7 separate regions of the Homo sapiens genome follow, and all the other regions are linked to region 1. Evidence: promoter capture Hi-C in 16 types of primary human blood cells and fetal thymus (Javierre and others, 2016). All regions are on one chromosome and are shown on one strand. Each heading gives the region's core, a stretch centred on a gene start or on the middle of the fragment in contact. The rest is flanking DNA. Distances are from core to core; before and after follow the strand shown.

Evidence for each region. The method cuts DNA at HindIII sites, captures the fragments that hold promoters and counts their contacts. A CHiCAGO score of 5 or more calls a contact.
Region 2: a fragment that was not itself captured here is called in contact with the fragment with the promoter of TRMT11 in region 1 in 1 of 17 cell types (total B cells); the score reaches 8.6 in total B cells.
Region 3: a fragment that was not itself captured here is called in contact with the fragment with the promoter of TRMT11 in region 1 in 5 of 17 cell types (total CD8 T cells, naive B cells, total B cells and 2 more); the score reaches 7.5 in total CD8 T cells.
Region 4: a contact is called between a fragment that was not itself captured here and the fragment with the promoter of TRMT11 in region 1, in 5 of 17 cell types (total CD8 T cells, non-activated CD4 T cells, total B cells and 2 more). The highest score is 7.4, in total CD8 T cells.
Region 5: a fragment that was not itself captured here is called in contact with the fragment with the promoter of TRMT11 in region 1 in 2 of 17 cell types (naive CD8 T cells and total B cells); the score reaches 6.2 in naive CD8 T cells.
Region 6: a contact is called between a fragment that was not itself captured here and the fragment with the promoter of TRMT11 in region 1, in 1 of 17 cell types (M1 macrophages). The highest score is 5.5, in M1 macrophages.
Region 7: a contact is called between a fragment that was not itself captured here and the fragment with the promoter of TRMT11 in region 1, in 1 of 17 cell types (M2 macrophages). The highest score is 5.1, in M2 macrophages.

Annotation. Positions count from the first base shown.
Region 1 is chr6:125,985,038-125,988,094 of GRCh38, forward strand. TRMT11 (tRNA methyltransferase 11) reads left to right here and starts at 1,503. Exons shown (of 13, transcript NM_001031712.3): 1 at 1,503-1,585. The coding sequence starts at 1,514. RefSeq lists enhancers at 726-1,556, 1,534-2,023, 1,557-2,386. The HindIII fragment of the contact is 7,229 bases long and covers 1-3,057 here.
Region 2 is chr6:127,516,142-127,519,198 of GRCh38, forward strand. MTCL3 (MTCL family member 3) reads right to left here. Exons shown (of 7, transcript NM_001400265.1): 1 at 2,438-3,057; 2 at 1-561. The coding sequence starts at 473. SOGA3-KIAA0408 (SOGA3-KIAA0408 readthrough) reads right to left here. Exons shown (of 13, transcript NR_174482.1): 1 at 2,438-3,057; 2 at 1-561. Among named protein-coding and RNA genes, the nearest start is that of MTCL3, 1.7 kb to the right of the region's middle. RefSeq lists a silencer at 1-107. The HindIII fragment of the contact is 1,311 bases long and covers 898-2,208 here.
Region 3 is chr6:127,296,017-127,299,073 of GRCh38, forward strand. All of the region lies in intron 5 of ECHDC1 (ethylmalonyl-CoA decarboxylase 1), which reads right to left. Among named protein-coding and RNA genes, the nearest start is that of RNF146, 31 kb to the left of the region's middle. The HindIII fragment of the contact is 621 bases long and covers 1,081-1,701 here.
Region 4 is chr6:127,273,040-127,276,096 of GRCh38, forward strand. The region is part of intron 1 of RNF146 (ring finger protein 146); the gene reads left to right. Among named protein-coding and RNA genes, the nearest start is that of RNF146, 7.7 kb to the left of the region's middle. The HindIII fragment of the contact is 918 bases long and covers 1,173-2,090 here.
Region 5 is chr6:127,248,977-127,252,033 of GRCh38, forward strand. No RefSeq gene overlaps it. Among named protein-coding and RNA genes, the nearest start is that of RNF146, 16 kb to the right of the region's middle. The HindIII fragment of the contact is 2,849 bases long and covers 38-2,886 here.
Region 6 is chr6:127,203,265-127,206,321 of GRCh38, forward strand. All of the region lies in intron 1 of LOC105377989 (a long non-coding RNA gene), which reads right to left. Among named protein-coding and RNA genes, the nearest start is that of RNF146, 62 kb to the right of the region's middle. The HindIII fragment of the contact is 971 bases long and covers 1,089-2,059 here.
Region 7 is chr6:127,185,525-127,188,581 of GRCh38, forward strand. All of the region lies in intron 4 of RSPO3 (R-spondin 3), which reads left to right. The region is part of intron 1 of LOC105377989 (a long non-coding RNA gene); the gene reads right to left. Among named protein-coding and RNA genes, the nearest start is that of RSPO3, 68 kb to the left of the region's middle. The HindIII fragment of the contact is 2,789 bases long and covers 196-2,984 here.

The sequences.
Region 1 (3,057 bases), core at 253-2,752:
TTCCCCAACATCTCATTGGTTTTCTGTCCCAACCTTGGCCTCTCTTCTCAAATAGTAAACAACTTTTCTTGTCTCAAAGTACTTTTACCCCCTTTTCTGAAGTTTTGGGGTCAAGAGACAGCTATGCTTCTCAGAGTCACTTAGCACAAGTGAACTTGAGACATATTCCTAACAAAAACAGATCTCTTGCTAACAAAAATTCTCATGTGATTTTCTTAAGAAAAATGTCAAGTGCCACTTATTGGCCCCATTCAATATGCCAGATGTTATATTCAACACTTTATGAACATTATTCCACTTAATCCTTGTAACAATCCTTTGCAGGAGGCAGTGTGTTTTTCCATTTTTAAAAGAAAACTCAAGCTCGGAGAGGTTAAGAGCATATACATGGTAAATGGTGGAAGTGAGGTTTGAATCTAATATTGACACCACAGCCTATGTTCTTAATCACTACCACTGCGCATCAACTACGTTTCTGGCACATGCCGCTGGGGATATGCCAGATACATACTCTTTTGCACCTTGTACAATACCACAGAGAAATGCAAAATAAATAATTTTTAATAGGGCAAAGGGCTCGGTACTCTCAAAAGCAGAAATAGCCCAGAGGGAGGGCTTGAGCCCGTAATTCTAGCACTTTGGGAGACTAGGGTAGGAGTATCCCCTGAGACCAGGAGTTCAAGGTTACAGTGAGCTATGATTGCGCCACTGCACTCACCTGGGTGACAGAGCAAGATTGTCTTAAAAAAAAAAAGTCACATATATACATAGAATATGCAATTAAAATATATTTCATAAACTATCTGCTATGAAATCTGTGCCAGTGTGAGCTTTCTCCAAGTTTTAATTTATGGCTGGCTGTGGATTTAGTCCTGAGTCTAACAAATAACACAACCTAATAATTATTGCCTACTTTGAGGAAGATATTCTTTTGGTTTTTGTTAAGAATAGAGTGAACCATAAAAGATTATATCAGACCTCAAGAGTTTATTATAATTGGGTTATAAGGCATGTGCTCTCGAAAAGTTGTTACATAAATACGAAAAATATACTGTTAAATGACTGGCCCAACTAAATCAGTTCCCAAAGCTGTGCTGGTTAGACAAACCTACAAGGAAATGGTGAAATTTCCAAGGAAATGGTGAAATTTCAGTCCAATTTTGAAGAACAGGTTTTGAAGGGCTGTAGAGAAAGCTGGAAGCACACTCCAAGTGGAACGATAACTTGGAAATATACTGTCTTATTATCACAGGCTGCTCCTGAAAGCCACGCGTCCCCGCTCACCAGCTACCAGCGCTGGGAGACCCCTAACCACCAGGCATTCACAGGTGAGGAAGCCCCTCCCACAGCGGCCGGAGTTTCGGACTCGGAGCGCGAGAAACGTCGGGATAGCGCCTGCCTCGCAGAGCTTCCGCTTCCGGCCCTTCAGGCTCTGTCTCTGTGGAGACTGGGCTTTGGGAGGGAGAAAGAGGGACCTAGCGCGGGCCGCGCAGGCGCACGGTGGGCAGCTGCAATGGCGCTGTCGTGTACCCTTAACAGGTATCTGCTCCTCATGGCGCAGGAGCATCTGGAGTTCCGCCTGCCGGTGAGTCCGTAGCGCCCTCCGGAACTTCCGACGGAAGAGGACGCTGGAGTGGAGTGGAGTGGGTGGAGGTGATCTGCATAGCCCGAGGAAGCTGGGATTCGGGGGTCTTCGCTGGTCTGCGCGGGTCACGCGTCCCCAGTCCTCGGGCGGGGTGAGCTTGGCGGAGGGTGTGTGTGAGAGAAGTCCGAGACCAAACCCCTCGGCCTGCTTAAACTTTTCATTCTTTTGCCCGTGTATCAAGTACCGGAGTTAGGCAGGTGAATATGACCGGTCATCTCACTCCCGGAGCTCTTCGTCTAGCGGAGAATAGAGACAGCTAACAAATGCTCAGGCTGGTGTTTGAAGTATTGGAATCTGCGGATCAAGCTCAGTGGAGGGGATGGTGGTGGGGATTAGATGATGGAGAAGTTGAGAAGAGTGTTTTATTTATTCAAGAAACGTTTTCAGAATGCATGTAGTCGAAGATCGGTACGCTGGGCATGTAACGATGATGTAAGCAATCTCTGCCCTCTAGGAGCTTACTGTTTAGAGTAAGGGCTGAGCAGACACATAGGCGTAGAATGACAAAAGAGCGTCGGTAAGTGCAGTGATAGATGCACATGGAAATATGAGAGCACGTGGAAGGGAAATCTAATCTACCTGAGGGGTTGGGGATGTTGGCCTTTAAGAGGGCTTCCAGAGGAGATGACACTTGAAATAAAGGATGAATAGGAGTTAGAGGGCCAAGGAGATAAATCAGTAAATTAGAATTACAAGGTGTTCATTATTACTGGATCACTAGTTATGTGGCAGAGTGGTAAGAAGAGAGCAAGGGAAGTAGATCGAGGCCAGAAAATGAAAACCTTGAGTACCCTGGAGCTTGGAAGGGGGATTTATTGAAAAGCCTTAAGTAAAAAAGTGACCACAAAATTAAATCAGTTTGACAACACTATGGAGGATGGATTTGAAAAGAATAAGACTTGAGCCAGAGACTAGGAGTCTGTGGGAATAGTCTTGTTAATAGATTAAGAAGGTCTGACCTAGGGCAAGGAGTAAGAGGATGGGATAGACTGGGAAAATATTTAGGCCATACAGTCATTAAGGCTGGATTGATTGAATATGTGGGAAAGGGGCACCAGTCAGGTATGACTCCTGGGGTGTATATAGGTAGGAGTGTCTCCATTTAAAATAGAGAACATAGGCAGATGTAAGATTTAAATTTTGTTTACACTGAATTTGATGTGGTTGTGTAACATCAACCTGAGATGACCAAGAGGCGGTGGATATATGAATATGCATAGAGTATGGCAGAGTGATCTGGACTAGTGATAAATATTTGGGAGTCTTCTTCATATGAAAACTAGGAGCGGGGAAGAAATTACTCAAAGGATAAGGTCAAAAGAGTAGCGGGCCAAGTATAGATGCTTGGAAGCATTGATATTAAGGGAAAGTCGGAGGAGGCCATGAAGAAGATGGGCAAGTGCCAGAAGGAT
Region 2 (3,057 bases), core at 303-2,802, 1.5 Mb after region 1:
CCGAGTTTCGAGGGCACGGACTCTAGCTCCCGAGGCGGCTCCTCGGGCGGTCCGGGCCTCCTGCCGCCCAAAGCGGCCAGGGTCGCGGCGGGGGCCGCTTCAGCACCAGCCACAGGCTGGACAGCTCCCGGAGCGGCCCCTTTGGGCGCCAGGGGCGTCGCCTTCTCGGCCCCACCTCCGCCTCCTCGGATGCTGGCGGGCGGCCCCGTGCGGCTCCCGGTCTTGTTACCCTGCTGTTGCTGCTGCTGCAGCTGCTGCTGCCGAACAGAATTGAGTTTAGTGCCGGCCCCCACTGGGGACCGGGTGGCCGCGATTGTCTGTCGCAGCGAACTGTCCCTCGGTCTAGCGGGTGACTGAGCTCGCTGCTGCTTTCTGCTGCTGCCCTCCGGGTGCAGACGAGCCTCAGTGGCTGCAGCGGCGGGAGAAGCTGCTGCTGTGGCAGGGGCAGCGCCCCCGATTGGTGGCTGACTCATGGCTATGAACCTACCAGATGCGATTTGGAAGAGCCCATTACTAGATCATCCTCTTCCCTCTTCACCGCCGCCAACCTTCCTTCCTAAGCTGGGACAGAAACAAAAGGAGAGAAGAAGACAACATGTCTGAATTTTTGCAGAGCAAAGGGTGATATTGCTCCATTTGGATGGCGCTTAATAGAAGCTTTGACTTTAGGAATAGGATGCAGGGCTGTCTTTAGGAATAGGATGGAGGGCTGTCAATTCTCATTTTGCCCAGGGTGGCGCTGTCTCCATCTCACTCCACCTCAGCAAAATGACGGATCTGAAAGCAGCTGAACCTTACATTCTCATGGTAGCAGGCTTTGGAAAGGGTGAGATACAGAGTCAGACAGGAATTGATGGAAAGGGAGATATAAAAGAAAAGAGGATAAAGTGGAAAAGAAGCTTCAGAAAGAAAAGATATCCATATATTAGAGTTGTCAACTCTGCTTTTACAACTTTGGCTTTCCTTACCATCAAATCCATATGTAAAGCCTAGTTTACTGGAGAAAGTTTTCATTTAATTAGTATTCCCAAGTTCAATTAGAGGAAAAGGGTTATGATGTAGGGTTCCTAGAGAATATTTTCTACGGATAAATGACACTTTCCCCAGGCAGCTCCAACCCTTAATGTTGTTTTTGGGAAAATGCACCCAACTTCCTTTATAATAGAACTAAAAGAAAATATAAATAATGAATGCCTTTAAATCAATCTCAGTTTCAAGAAAATAATAGCATTAAGAATTGTCTATATGGGTTAGTTATTAGCAACCCAAAAACGTATTTTTTCCCTTTTGGGAAATAATTTTTAAAATACATTTGGAAAAGTTGTGGTCAGTTCTGCAGTTTCCTAAGTTTCTGGTGATGAATTTTCCTATGCTTACCCAGTTTTGTAGTCTTATGAATCACTTTAGTTTTAAGTGTAATTGCTAGATAGAAAATATTTTCATTCTTAGCCATCTTCTTACATCGCATATCATAGGCAAAAGTTGTACTTTTTAAAGTGCCCATTTCCTCCTATATAGCAATTCTGAGACAGAACCCAGAAGGCTGGTGCATCTTCCCTCATGGTGGTAAGATCAATTTCCAGTATGTGTATTTCCAAGATAAATCCGTCACTAGCTTCTTTAATCTGAAAAATAGCAAGTTACTGCCTCATGGGTTCCTCTCCCTAGGGATCCAGGCAGCTAGTCAATTAGTTGCCTTTTCCTTAAAATTATTTCTGTCTAAAGCACTGAAAGGGGCATGACTAGGCATAAATTTCTCCTTTAAAAATATTTGTTCTATACAGAGAGCAGATTACTTTACTGCCAGTTATTTTACTTGCATTATTCTTGTTAACATCTATTGTTAGCATCACAACTTAGCATGCAGTAATTCCTCATTTTATAAAGAAATATTACCGAAGGGTTCCTAATCCACCTCCCTTTCTGTTTCTGGCATCTCCTTCCAACTCACTTTGAAATATAAAGGTGAACAAAGAAGACATCGGGGGAAAATTGCCCACCAACTTGTTTTCTACATCTTCTCTCCCAGTCGCGATACTACTAGAATGTCTGGCCTAGTTTATCATCATGGGTGGCACTAACATGGGCTATCTAACTAACTTATATTGCCAATGCAAACTTATTTTTGTTTTTAATCAGGCAGAATAATTCCAGAGCTGAGAAGCCAATGTTTAAACTCAGCCCTCAGACAGCATTAACCCAGGCGAAAGCTTGTGTTCCAGTAACTGGGCTCCACAATCAAAGGTATCCGGCTGCTGTCACGTGGTTCCCACAAAGTGACAAGATGCTGCATCTCTTCAAGGCTTTCCCGGTGAAAATTATCACCCAACCAACCCCTGCACGGCTTAGACCAACACTTTTAATCTCAAGTTTTATCCGCCTGCTAACCCACCCCATCATTCATCCCCAACCCTTTAGAAATCCAGAACTTGCTCACTTCTCAGCAGAGGCGAGGTTTCCAAGTAGCTGAACAAATCAACAGCACTTTCCTTCTGATATTCCGGGGATCTCAGGGTTTATTATTGTGCCTTTCTGCGCCGAGGAAAGTTCAACTTCATATTATTGTATGCGACTTTCCGGCTGAGCATGACTTTGGGCTCGCTCGCCGCAGTTCCACACCCACTCGATTTCTCCAAACAATGGCGGTAACGTCAAGATTCAGCTGCCCCCAGAGCGGGTGACTTCCCGGCGGTCCGCGGCTGGGCTGGAGCTGCAGCTCTCAGCAGGCTAACACGCGAGGTACCAAGCTGGGCCAGACGCTCCCCAGGAAGTGCAGAGATGTTCATGAGCTGACCTCACCGAACTGGGCAGGAGAGAAGGCGGGATTGCAAGGGACGATAGGGTAGAAGTAACCAAAGAGAGGTTACTTTCAAGAGGAAAGAGAAGAAGGCGGGGAGGGGGACGGGGGACGGGGGTGGGGAGTGGCGGGATAAAGAGACAAAAAGGCCAGAGCCACGCCCGAGATGGAAGATTGGCAGCAGCGCTCAAACTCCTTGCTCTATTCTCTTATCCCGTACTTGGCAGAGGATCCCAAAACCGCTCGAACACGGATGCACT
Region 3 (3,057 bases), core at 141-2,640, 1.3 Mb after region 1:
AATAAGCTCAAAATGGATTAGATATATAAATGTAAAACACAAAACCATTCAAGTACTAGAAGAAACACGCATGAACTTTTCTATAACCTTGATATATGGAAAGGCTTTTAAACTACCACTTGAAATCCAGATGCAACTTTTAAAAAGATTGATAGATATGACTACTTTTGTGTGTGTGTGTCTGTTTTTTTTTAGACAGGGTCTTATTACTCCATTGCCCAGGCTGGAGTGCAGTGGCACGATCTTGGCTCATTGCAACCTCCGCCTCCCAGGTTCAAGTGACTCTCCTGCCTCAGCCTCCAGAGTAGCTGCAACTACACGTGCGCCATCACACCCGGCTAAATTTTTATACATTTTTAGTAGAGACAGGGTTTCACCATACTGGCCAGGCTGGTCTCAAACTCCTGATCTTGTGATCCGCCTGCCTCGGCCTCCCACAGTGGACCATGTTTTTTTAAAAAGGCTTGTGTGGCAAAAAAGAATAAAAACAAAAAACAAGCAAAGTCAAAAAACAAGCTGAGCAAATATATGCAAAACACTTCACAGATAATGACATTATCCCTAATACTTGAAGAACTTTAAAAAATTGAAGGAAAAAAACAAATATCCTGTTGAGAAATAAGCAAAATATGAATAAATAATTCACCAAAAAAAATTTTTTAATGGTCCTTAAGACATATGAAACTATAATCAACTTCACTTTAATATAAATGGGCTGTGCGCAGTGGCTCATGCCTGCAATCCCAGCACTTTGGGAGGCTGTGGATCACTTGAGCTCACAAGTTTGAGACCAGCCTGGGCAACATGACAAAACCCCGTCTCTACAAAAAATACACAAATTAGCCAAGTGTGGTGGTGCACTCCTGTAGTCCCAGTTACTCCGGAGGCTGAGGTGGGAGGATGACTTGAGTCCTAGAGGCGGAAGTTGCAGTGAGCAGTGATCGTACCACTATACACCCCAGCCTGGGTGAGACAGAGCAAGACCTTGCCTCAAAAAGAAAAAAAAAGAGAAAAAAAAGAAATGCATATTAAAACTATGCTGAAATATTGTTCCTTACCCATGAAATTGGCAAATTCCAAAGCTTAATAGTAGGCTCTGTTGACAAGGCTAAGTGAAACAGACTAGAGGGAATGCAAGACTTGTCTATCTCTTATGGAAGAAAATTAGGCAATAATTAATAAATATTCATTAACTCATTAATATTTATTTAACTTTTGATTTAGCAATCCTATTTCTAGTGTTTATCCTTAAGATATGCCATTAGTATTACTAAAAAGTATAGATAAAGTTATTCACTACAACATTCTAACATATTCAAGACATAAAATAAGGCTGGAAACAAGGGAAAAAATTTAAACTGAATGCAAAAACTAAATCAAGGTATTTTCAAATGAAATCACATTGAGGGATAAGAAAAGGAAAAATCAGGCAGACAGCTAAGGCTAGTCCTTGGAGAAATAGCCTGAAAAATCACAGCTACAGGCACAAACAGAACAACCTGGGGAAAAACTAAACTGCAACTACACTAATAAGAAAGCAAGGCCCAACAGAGAAGCCTTTTTTCCTTTGTGTGATTAGCGGGCTTCCAGGAAAAAGGTTCCTCCCCTTTTCAGGCATATACATGGTAGGCTCTGTGGGAACCTGCAAAGGAATGGGGGTGGGCTTACCTGAAACAGACCTGCAGTTAAACAAACAAGAGAAGCTTCACTTTGTGCTTACCCAAGACATACCCACAGCTGCAGAGATAAGGAGAGTTACACAAATAGCTACAGAGATGAGGGGAGTTTCTTATAAAAGCTTTTGGATTCAACTGTAAAAACAGCAACCCACTCAGGCCCCCTCTCCACTACAAAGAGCTTTCTTCTTTCACTTATTAAACTTTGACTCCAACCTCCCCCTTGCGTCCATGCTCCTTAGTTTTCTTGATTGTGAGACAAGGAGCTCGGATAACACCTCAGACAACGAGACCATTCACCCCAGACCATTTCAACATCAAAGAAGGAGAAACAACAAAAACAACAGTGAACTAATGTAAGTAACTTTTGGACACAGTACAATACTTTATTTACCCTTAGTCTGGGTGAAAAAAATATATGATACACAAAGATAAAACACAATAGCAAAATGTTAAAAATTGTTGGACCTGAATGAATGGCACAGGGAAATTATTTGTATTACTGTCACGCCTTTCCTGCAAGTTTGTAATTATTTCAAAATTAAAAATTAAAAAATACAATTCCAGTTTCTCTCTCACACCAAATTCAATAGTAAAATATTAAATATTAGACATATAAAAATGTGTACATGCTTTTTTTTGCCAAAAGTTGATGCTAAAAGCCAAGCAGTCTGAGTTTGTCATTTTCTATTTTCTAAGGTAGTTTTGAGAGATTTTTCTCTATTTTCCCATGTTTTTAGAATAACTGGAATTAGAAAGTAGAATCAAGGAATGAGTGTTTTAAGTACTTCCTGAAGCACATTCTGGAATCTTGATCTTGAAACCAAGCTAACCATCCATACTACAGGTATAATTATGTTTAAAATAATGTCTATATCAGAGAATCCTTTATAAATAAGGTATACAGTCATGCACTGAATAACAACATTTTAGTCAGCAATGGACTGTATGACAATGATCCCATAAGATTATAATGGGGCTGAAAAATTTCTATAGCCTGGTGACATCATCGCCATTGTAATGTCATAGAACAATGCTTTACTCACATTTTTGTGGTGATGCTGTTAAAAACAAACTTACTGCACTGCTACCTGTACAGAAGTATAGCACATACAATTATGTATGTTACATAATACTTGATAATAATAAATGACCATGTTAATGGTTCGGGTATTTACTGTACTATATTTTTTTTTTTTTTGAGAAAGGGTCTCACTCTGTCCCGCAGGCTGGAGTGCAGTGGTGCCATAATGGCTCAATGCAGCCTTGACCTCCTGGCCTCAAGCGATCCTCCTGCCTCATCCTCCCTCAGGAATGGGACTACAGGCGTGTGCCACCATGCCTGGCTATTTTTTTTATTTTTTGTGTCTCACTATGTTGC
Region 4 (3,057 bases), core at 382-2,881, 1.3 Mb after region 1:
AGGTAATTTAACTTCTTGTAATGGCATGACTTCTTGGCTTCTTGGGAGCACTTCTAGCATCACTAGTGGCACTTCACATGGGTCCCATGGTGTTATTCAAGGTTTATGGTATTGTACTAAACATGATGAAAAATACACAAGAACAAGAGATTACATTTTACTCCAATACATGCAGAGATGATTAGTGTCCACAGCATTTTAAGTGGAAATTCATAATAGCAACAGGAAATTATTACAGTATGTACTACAATTAATTTTATACAGCTATGATTCATACTGCATCTTTACATTTGTTTAAATTTCTTGTACCACCTCAAGTGGCACCATATGTGTCTGTGTTTACTAAGTTTTGATACACTTTAACTTCTTATAATTTCTCTATATTTTATAATACTAAATGATAAAATAGACTATATATGTTTTATGCATTCATAATATACCTAATTTTTTCTTTTCCTTTTTTTGATGTTTCAAGACTACATGATTCATCTGCAAGTTTTTTCAAATTGTCACAAATCTCCAAAAAAATTTCCAACATATTTATTGAAAAAACTGTATGTATATAAGTCAACTTGTTCATTTCCAACCTGTGTTGTTGAAAGGTCAGCTGTATGAGGTTATCGTCAAAGATCTTTAAAGAAAGAAATGACATCATCAATATTTTGAAAATTAGAGAAAGCCATTTCTAAAGGAATCCTAGAAATGACTTCAGGCCAGAATTAGAAAAAAAAAAATTGAAGAAATAGGCTAAATAAATATGTCTTTGGCTGTGTTCTTTTGAAAATGGCATTAATGTATAGAAAGATACTCGAATGTGAGTTATGGTCACTGATACATTCTTTTGTTTACTGCTGAACATAACTGGACTAGAGGAGTGTAATGAGGGCAAGGATGTTCTTTCTGTTGAAGGAGAAAGTTTATATTGATGGAAAGTCATTATTCATAGATACTTTGCTGTTATTTCAGTACTATTAAGTAAATAGTTCTCTGCTCCTGGGTTTGTGTGTGTGTGTGTTTTCTTTATAAGGGGCTTTTTCAAATAATTTTGCTATTGATAAGTTACTTGAATTTAATCATTAGTCTTCAAATAAGGAAAGCAGAATGAGAGAATGCATCTCCTTGAATTAACCAGATTTTTTTTTAGTACCTTTGTTCTAGTGGATATGTAGCAAAGCTTTTACTTTAATATTTGTGGCTATAGCTTTATTTCAGCTATGTGAAATAGTTTTATAGGAAAGATCACAGCTTATTTGGGTGTTCAAATATGGGTTCTTTAGAGGATTTTTTTGTACTTATTTTGAAGCTGCTTTGTTTCAGTTAACTTAGATTCCTTTAAGAATCAACTTTTGTTTCAGAGATAAAATATTTATGGATAAGACCTAAGTAAAGTAAGTGAATAGAGAGGAATAAATTAGATTGGTTACAGATAATGTGTAAATGCATTCAGGAGATAAGGAGAATTAGAAACAAGGACATTTTTTGTGTATTTCTTAGGAATAAAATGGTACCTTCTACACATCTCAATTATTAAAGTACAAATAGTGATTGAACGAAATTTTTAGAAGAAATGTTTTAATTGAATCTTCACACTAGAGGTTTTACCATTCAATCAATTAGGTTCTGAGAAGGATGGATTGGTACATCTTAAAAGACTTGTAAGATAGCGAAGGATAGGCAGTGCTAATGACCAACAGCAACACTCAGCAGGACTTTGTGGACCAAAAAACTTCAAGTTAGAATTGTGGGTAAAGGCTGGGCATGGTGGCCCTCACCTGTAATCCCAACACTTTGGGAGCCTGTGGTAGGAGCATCACATGAGGCCAGGAGTTTGAGGTTTAAGTTACCTGCAGTCATACCACTGGACTCCTGCCTGGTTAACAGACGCTGTCTCTTAAAACAAAACAAAACAAAAGAATTGTGGGTAAAGTAAGAGCAAATTGACTTTTGAGTGATGGTCCGAAAACCTTTGTGATGGGTAAAGGGTAGAATGTCTGTATAATTTTTCTGAACTGGAACACTTGTTGGGAGACCAAGGGCAAACTGGATAGATGCTGGGCTGACCTATGTGGTCATCCTAGTGAAGAATCATAAGCTTTATTGGGGAAAGAGCTTTGTGAAGCTGTTTTGGCTGTTCAGAAACCCATCTTGGTTTATGCTTAGATTTTTATCTCCATTTTGGAGAATTCATTGACAATGAACAATAGCTGGGTAAATGATTTGCTTGCCAAAAGATACAAAGATGGGTTGAATTTTATATTTGTAAATGTAGGAACTCCTTTAGATTTTAAGTTATATAAAGCAAGGATTAGAACTTAGATATTTTTATGTATCTTACAGATTCCAGCTTGAGTTCACAATTAGAACTCAAGTGTTGTGTTATTTGAATAAATCTAATCCTTTGATATTCTGTTCCTCACAATAGTTACTTTTAGGAGTTGATTTTTCATTCATCCAAAAAATATCAGTTCAACAAAAATTGATTGACAATTTACTAGCTATTTAAAGATATAAAAATCTCCCTATCTTCAGGGGATTCATGATTTCACAGAAGAGTCAGACTTCACAAATGAATTGAAATTAGTGCATGTGATAAATTCCGTAATAGAAAAACATACAAAACATAGAGGAGAGAACAGTTAACTTTCTGGAGGTAGTCAGAGAAAATGGTAGAGATAACCATTTCTGTGTAATATATTAAAGAACAAATAGGCATTCATAAGCTGTAAAAGGGAATAGATCGTACCAGGCAGGAGGAAATACAGAGCTACAAAGGGAGGTTTGCAGGACTATGAGTAATTTTATACAACTAGATTATTAATCTATGGGTGGTTGTTGAAGATAAAAAAGACTAGAGACTAATTATTTACAGTTTAGATCTTTAAAACCTTTTAATGTTGTCCTAAGGAGCTTTGTCTTTATTGTGTAGGCTGAGGACCCAATATTGTGCTTCACATATGGAAGAAACCTGGTCCATTTTGCCTTTTAAATATATCAGTCAGTCCTAGCTACTTGGGAGGCTGAGATGGGAGGATCGCTTGAGCCAAGCAGTTTGAGGTT
Region 5 (3,057 bases), core at 212-2,711, 1.3 Mb after region 1:
TATTCCCTTTTTATTTAAGGTATTTTTGACATGAAAAAGCTTCCAATTTTGTGACATCAATAACATATCCTTTTCCTCTGTAATTTCTTCCATTTCTTCTATGTTCAGAAAGTACTTCTATTCAAAAGGCCAATGCTGTGGTCTCTATAATTTATTTTTTTAAACTTTGGCATAGACAATGTGCTATTATTTACGGGACAATTGATTTAAGCTATGCTTTATATGGGATCATTTGCCCTAATCAGGAATGCTCATACAAAAGGCGATTATTTAGCATTTAATCAGAAAGGCTACATTTCAAAGACTATAAGTACTGCATCTAATTTATCTTTGATGAAATCGGTACTTATTGATGAAATTAATGGTATGGGAGATACATACATTGAATAAAAGATTTCAGAGACAATTCCACAAGAATTCAGGGAGTCATATCCTACTCACTTAAAGATGGCACCAAGGCGTGATCCCTACTGAGATTTTTTTGCATGCTTTCCAATGGATGTATGGGTGGCAGAATTTGATCTGCATTTGCTTTCTTCATAACCTGATAGGTTGTGGGGAAGTAGTTAAACTTCATCCACCTCTAAACATTGGAGGCTACTACTAAATTTTAAAAATAACCTAAGAGTTATGCAAGATTGAATTGGCTTACACCAGTTTGTGAGAATCAGTTAAATAGCCACCTGTATCTTCTTCTCACTTATTTCTGAGTTTTATCTTTTATAGCCAACTCTTGACCCACCTGAAGTTTTGAATCTCAAATGGCTACAGGAGCGGAGCCATTCACATAAATGTGTGAGGCAAACTGGCATAAAACAGGAGGTGGGAAGAATTGTGCCAAATTGCAGAGCACCAGGGGAGCTGACACTCCTCTGTTCTTGCCAAATGCTGCCATCTGGGAATGTGAGTCCAGTGTTGCTATATCTTCTGTTTTAATTTTTCTTCCCATATTAAAAAAGAAAAAACAAAAAAAAAATTATAGTTTGTTGTAAATTTTTTTGAGTTTTATAATACCATGCAACAAACCATGTACATTTGTGGCCCAGTTATAATACAAGGGTGGTCACCAGTTTGCAATCTTTGGTTTATAGTGTAAGAGGTGAATGTTTTATACATATATATGTATGTGTGTATATATATATATATATACACACACACACATATATTTATCTCCAAGTAGGCAATTTTTCCCCGAAATTGTTGGAAACAGTCTTTCTCATTAAGATCTTATCCTTCCACCACCAAACACTGTATACTTGTATACTAGCAGCTGTCCTACTAACGAGTATATTCTTCCACCACTTCCATACTATTTTCATAATAATAAATTCCACAATTTTAACTATTATTATTTTTGGAAGCATTTTAAAAACTATGAAAAAATCCTCATCCATTTAAAAACCAGCAGCCCTCCACTGGTATCGTTTTTCAAATTTTTCTTTCCTGTACACTTAAGTAAATTTAAGAATAACTTTGTGCATCTTCAACAACATCCTTTGATATTTTAATTGAAATTTTATCTCCTAAATGGTTATTGCCAATATATAAATATTCTTTTTATTTATTTTGTATCTGAACATTTGACTTATATTCTGGTTTTAAGAATTTTAAAATGTATTCTTTTAGGTTTTCTAAGCATATCATTAGCTGGTCAATTGATAGCCCATTTTCTGGGCTATCGAACATTTTACATAACATGAAGAGTTTTGAGTTATAGAGAGCTTGAAAGTGTTTGACAGCAAACTGTCGTGCCTGGAACTATTTTTTTGAGGTAATACCATGATTATTGGATATATTTTTTGTGATTCTACTCATGTTTATTTCCTAAAAATCTATTTACTTAAGACCTTTATTGATACCAACTATGTGTCATTGTTCTATGTGCATTGGGTAATAAAGACACACAGAGGGGCCTTTCTGTGTGTAATTATATATGAAAGGAATATATATTCTCAGAAGAGAAGACAGATAATAAACCAACACATAAAATTTTAAAATATCAGCTAATGATAAATGCCCAGGTGAAATTAAAAGAGTGTGATATTGTGCTGAGTGACAGGCTGAGGGATGTTGAGAAACTATGGGTAGTCAAAATAAAAACCTCTCTGAGAAAGTGACTTTTAAGATGAGACATCATTGACAAGAAGGAACCATCAAAAATCCAAGGAAAGAGATTCCATGTAGATAGAAAGCACAGTTAGTCCAGAGTGTAGGAAAAATTTATTTGTATACAAAGATTGGCATGCTCCAAGTTACCTATGTGACTGGAATTTTCAAACTTATTAGTACAATGTAATTCAATACTATTAACTTCCTCCATGTCTTTATTTTTTCTTTTTCATCCTTAATAATGTTTGTCTTTGACATCATTCTTAATAAAATGTGCCTATGATATAGCTGCTACATTATGCATTTATTTTTAAATTAAAATAAAACTTTTGGATTATCAATTCCACTTTGACTTTTATATTTAGACTTTTTCCTCTATTTTTGTTTCCTATTTAAAATTCTTCTTTTTAGTAATAAACATTTTTTTACTACCAATATTCCGTGAGGTAAGTTTAGTCCACACTAAAAAAAGAAAAATGCTAATGCCTTGTGTTCTTTCTATTCTTGTTTCAAAATTGTCTCAGATTATATTATTATTTTTATCATTGGCTAAGATAGGAGATTTTACTTTGAACTTTTAAATGATAAGATATTTTATTCCCATCTAATAAATTAATATCCAGTGAATTCTATCATGGTCAGAAAATATGAATTTTTGATTTGAGAAATGTATTGAAGTATTCCTTTCAGTCTAAGTACATGAGTTTATTTTTTTCTGTCTCTTTTTGGTATTACATGGGCATCTAAGTAAGTTATATTCTTCTCTTGTGGATATAAAGCTTTAAAACTTATCGTATATCTATTGATTTAGCCTTATATTATCACGCAATTTCTTCTTGTCATCTTTTTTTTCAACTACTTACTCTAACAAAGGTTGAGAGATGCATCAGTTACCCAAAATTTTTTTCTTCAAATTTGCCTTATATTTTTAACAGTCTAGTAGGAATG
Region 6 (3,057 bases), core at 324-2,823, 1.2 Mb after region 1:
ATTTGAAATTCAGGGCCTATATCAGTTTCCTTGCCTCCACCCCTTTCACCCCCAAAAGAAACCAGTCAATTAGATAATGGATAAATTAACACTATATTGACAAGCAAAGAATAATTAGAAATTAATAAGCATAAAGAGAAATGACTGTGTAAAAAAATCACTTGTTTCAGGTTTAATGTAGTCACTTTGGGACAGGAATATAAAACATGAAACATGAAAATAGTCAGCAGATGCCCTTTCCATCCATTAATAAAGTATCTTTTAAATAAATAATCAATCAACCTATAGATTCTGCCATTAGGAAATTAGCAACAGTGCTTTGCTGTACCAGTAGAGCTATCAGATTAGACAATTTTCATATGTATAGGTGACATAACATTCTCCTAAAATTTTCTATCAGGTTTCTAGATGGAGGTTAAAAGCCTTGTATGATTTTGTAATAATTGATATACCAAGCCTGGCATCCACAATAAATATTGATGTTTTCCATTCTGTAAAAATGATATAAAACATATTAGTGCTTTTATAGTTATGCAACTTTGTATGTTTTGATACCAAAAAAGATCCAGAAAATGTGAAAATACAGATAGTTATCTAAGTATAGCTTCACCGAGATTGGGTGATTTAATTATCAATTTGAAGGAAAACTCTTTTATCTGTAACAATGATCATAACTGAACTACTGAACTGGCCAGCAAAATTAATGTCTTGATCTGCCACTCAAGCAGTATTTAGTCATTATTTTCAAATGACTAAAATTAAATAAAATAAACTATACCTTTGAGAATCATTTTAACTGAAGTAGCCAGTTATAAGGGCTAGCCACAGGCAGTGTTTACAAAATGTCTCTTTAAGAGGTGTAAGATTATTTCAGATCCACAAAGAAAAAGCAGCAGATGGTCCTGCTTTTCCCTTGTATCACTTGAAACATACAAGACTTAAATATTAAGTTAAAAGTGTATTGAGAATACTTCAGAAAACAAATCTATGCCCAAATCACTCCTTAAAGCATGGAAAGAAAAATAATGCTAAAGTGGAGGAAAATAATTAAAAGTGGAATTCCCTATATATTCTAATTTGCAAGATGAAGCTTCACTCTTCCTGCAAAATACTACATTATGGGTATGAAGACGCCACACCAGTCCTAACCAAAACATGTCTCAGCCCTTCTCCAGCCTTCACCAAATATCACATTGCCAGCTTCTCTTTTGTCATGTCCTTGCACTTCCACAAATTGGATTTCCCATCAGAGTGTTAGTACACTCTGATGAACTCAACAAAGCAGAAGTAAGAAAAAACAACTTTAAAAATGTTGTTTTTATATTACAAAGCAATGTTTCAAATAAATGTTATTCAATATTACTGAAATGGCATTGAAATAGTCATAATGAGAAAAGTGAGAACTTGGTTGAACTTTCTTATACTGGTTTTACAATTTAATTCTGTGTTAGTTTGCAATACATTAAAAAAAGGAACGACAGAATCTTTCAAAATCCTTGGTCCAGTCCTACTGCACAAACACAAGCACCTACTGCCTCCCTTCTCTCCCGTTAGTCAATCCTAAGCCTTGCCTGAGAAATATCAGTGATTCTGTCAAATACTACAGACTGCTCTCTATCCTGAGTGCCTTGAGAAGGTCTCCAGCTATTCCAGTGTCACCTTTGACAGGAGGCAAAGGTGGTAAGCAAAGGTGTCAAGGCCCTGTCATCCATTCTGCCTTGTGTTTCTTTCATTTCCTGTACAGGGTAACTGCTCAGAAAAACTCAACTATTTCTCACAGGACAAATCATATAAAACCTTACAGGATTAAAAAAAGAGAGAGAGAAGCGCTTGTAATGAAAAGAAACGAAAGAAATAATAAGAGAACACACAAGAGGAAACCAGTCACACCCATTCTCTCTAGTGCTATGTAGCTTAACCCACACCCAAAGTAAACTGCCTTCACTTCAAGAAGCTGTCTCTCTGTAAATAAACTGACCAATGTATCTTTAAGACATAAACATCTTGGACTGCCATAATAAACATTGCAAAATAAATACAAAATAACATCTGGAGGCAAAGCTTTGCTAGGAGTGGGGTGAGAGGGAGTGCTAGCTTTTCTTAGCACCATTAATAAAGTATTAATTTCATTTTCTTTTAGTTTGGAAAATGCTTTCCATTATTAACCAAAAACAAATCAAAGACTTACTGATTTTACTTTAAAATCCAAAGAATGGAATACTGTCTGTCCATAATGGCTTTTTGCAAGTTGGGCTTATCTTCTTAGTTATATTTTAATTCCCTTGTTTTCTACTGTTTGAAACTAGCACTCAGTCACCAAGCAGTTAATTTAGATATGAAAATGGTTTATATTTAGGTCTAATTATTACTGTCCTGTTACATAAAAATCTTCTTTCTGTCTTGGGAAACCAATTTCTCCAATATAATGTACCAGAAAAACACAATACTTCCATTGTAAGAGTATATTATAATGATTATGACATTCAACCATTGTTTCTCATTGCAATGGCAGAGACCATGTTTCATGCACTTCCTATCAGCATCCGACTTATGTGTAGTTATCCCATTCAATTAACATTTATCATCGGCAAACAGCAACTGGTCCAGCTCTCTACCTGTACAAAATAATTACATCAAATGCTTGAGTTGCTCCTAGTAAATTTTACTATAATATTATTATGTAGATAATTGCCCTAGGAATTACTTCTCTTATTTTGTGTAATGCTCTGGTAAGATTTTTTGTAGGTGACATAGAAAGCATTGTATTCCAATGCCAAGAAAAAAAAAAAACTCATTAGAAATATATGTAACTTACAGCCAGGCGCCATGGCTCACGCCTGTAATCCCAGCACTTTGGGAGGCCGAGGTGGGTGGATCGATCACCCGAGTACAGGAGTTCCAGACCAGCCTGGCCAACACGGTGAAACCCCAACTCTACTAAAAATACAAAAAATTAGCTGAGCATGGTGGCAGGCACCTGTAGGCCCAGCTAATTGGGAGGCTGAGGCAGGAGAATCACTTGAACCCAGGAGGTGGAGGTTGAAGTGAGTCGAGATT
Region 7 (3,057 bases), core at 340-2,839, 1.2 Mb after region 1:
TTTACATATGTAGCTAATAAAGAGCTGAAAACATTAAACCATCACTATAAACATTTATATTATCTGTAGCTAAAATTGCATGGAGTGAGACACATGATACGTGGAGCAGCACAAATAAGAAACTGGGTAGTCATTTTTCCCCACATGATGCAATTCCAGATTAAAGGTACATTTTTCCCCCATAGACCAATAAAAAGCTTCAGAGAAAGACATAGTGGGCTGTGTTAGAATGAGAATTAGACAGCACAGTCAACTAGTGCATAACATGATGAAAGAGTAGAATACTATCAAGATTTCTTGTATAATCAATCACAGCAAACATGTCAGCAAGTATGAGGCCATCCGCTCCTGTCCATACAACCCAGTAGACAATTTGGGTAAGGGAATGAGTATAGCAGTGCCAAATGTGGCTATCAACACTTCTTCTGTTTCTGTCTCAAAAGAACAAAATTCTAAGACAAGCTCTTAGAACAAATGGAAATTTATCCAAATAAAAATCAAATGATAAATGCCCAGAGAATATTCTTTCTTTGGAATTCGTTCAATTCTTTAATTTAACCAGCTGGAATAAATTTTCAAGTAGCATTCTGCTCAGCCTTTTGAAATGAAGGACTTTTCTGTTAATTGGAAAGTTATATTCCATCAAAGATGAAGACAGTGATCTTGCCTTAGTGATTCTTAGAAAAAATAAAAGGCATTTGGTGAATATTTATCATATACTGATTCCAGAACATGTATTTTAAGCACAAATGAATGAGCTGTGGGCCTACACATTTAACTAAAGAAAAATAGGGAAAATTCAAATACAAGTTTTATTTTAAACTCTACATAAAAGCTAACTTTCACTATGCTCAGTCATGAGAGGAATATGTAAAGAGAAAATAGAAATAGAAACCATTAATTTTGAGAATGAAAGATGGATAATACAGCTGTGGTTCCTGATTTTCTGAAGCAAATGAATTAGATAAGTCAACACATTTAAGTGTTCTTTACTGTGTTACTGGAATATGTGTTATTGGGGCTGGGGAAACATGAGAGTCAACTCAAAAAGATCTACAGCAAGAAAATAAAAATTTACTGGGAAAAAATTATTTTGAAAATTCATATTTTTAAAGCAATCTGTACCATAGGCAGTACTTTAAACTTAGTCATTGATTATAGATATATTAAATAACATTGTTACATTTAAATTTTAAATTGGCACGTTAGGCAAACTAATTTATCGCAAATAATGTGAAAAGTTGTTTAAAAATTAATGATAGTCAAGTACTAAAGAAATAATTTTTCCAGATGTCTTAAAGGAATCACTGGATAGATGGTCTGAATTATAATTGTGTATTCTGATTTAAAATAATTTTATAGGAAGACTTCTAGGTAATACTATTTATGTACTTTCAGTCTGGCAATGTGTGTATAACAGAAATTTTTCAAAGAGGCTGTTCCACTTTTTTAAATATTTAAATTGCTGAGAGAACTTTTTAAAGGGTAATATGAAATAAATATTTAATAAGTTCCATAGACTCACGCATATTCTCCAGCTTGAGATGGAAGATGGTGGTTGAAGCAGCAGGGGGCGCCAGCGGGCATGGTGGTGAGATGGGGACAGGGTAGAGTACGAGTGTTACAAAAAAAAGATGAACACATCAATTCGTTTTTGAGATAGTCACTAATATTTTGAGAGGACTAGGTCCAAATTGAAAATTTGGGATAGAACACGACAATGTTGTTAGGCAGGCTTTAATGGTCTTTGAAATATTAGTGTTAGGACGCCCCACTGACTAAATTTCTGAAGATAGGTAATAAAATTCCCATATTATAAGCTCATAAACATTATATAAAACAACCAAAGTATCCTATTCAGGGTCATTTTTTTAAGGGAACAATAATATTCATCCAACAAGCTAGTCATGAATTTCACGGCAAAAGTAATGAATAATATTTGACGGTGCTTAATAGATGAAATTTGCCAACATACCCTTTGATAACAAGTAAGAATGAGAATAAATTTATATGCTTATTTAATAGATACAATTATTTAAAACCCAAGATCTAATTCAAAATGTGTTATGCAAACATGCTTAGATCAAGAAATTGTCTACATGTAAGTCAATGTATCTGATTTACTTTCCAAGAGTTTTATGATCTATCCTAAGGTGATAGATAGGATTTCAAAGTCAAGATAACAACTTCTGCTCTGAAGAAAAAATTACTTATTGTAAATGAACTTTTAACCAAAAAGCAGTTGATACAAGAGAAATAAACCCATACAAAAGAATGCAAAATCTAAAATATTTAATATAAATTATAATACCCTGCTAGCTTTTAAAATATTATACAATAAAATACAGAATATCCTTTACTTTTATAATGAGTAAAATTCGTAAACATTGCCAATATTTTTAAAAATCTTTGGGTACTTTCTCCCCTGATCACTTTTAACTGTTCTTTTAACATAGAACAGGAAGGCATCCTAGTATGCAATACCCAGTGCCTTTAATAGTTTCTTTTGGACTCCAGCTAATGGCCCTTTTAAATGGAAGCAAGGATTCCAGGCTGGGGTTCCAGGCAGCAGAAGCAATGAGGTGGAATGGAGTTAGCTTGAATGAAAGGGTTATGGAAACCTCTGTCACGACATTGAGCCAACATTCAAAATTTCAGATTCTGAGTCTTTAGTGGATAATAAAATTATTTAAACAACAGAGAAAAAAATTTGTAAAGGCCTATTGGCAATGGTCCATTTGTAAGGAAGGTATTTAATTAGGCAAAAGAGAGTTTATTATGCTTAAAGCAGACTATGAAAATACACATTCTAAAAAGTTGTGATTACTGATATTTATGATGTCTGCTATAAGGTGAAATGATTTATAATAGGACTGCATTCAAACCTCAAGTAGCATTTTAAAATTTTAAAGCTATATAATTTTTCTTTCTCTTTTTTAGTATTAAGTATAACAAAATATGAAAATATGTGATAATTTCATTAAAGCTTCAAAAATGTAACAGTAGTAGTCTAATGGAAAATTATTTCTAAATTAGATATAAATGATGTATAATTTT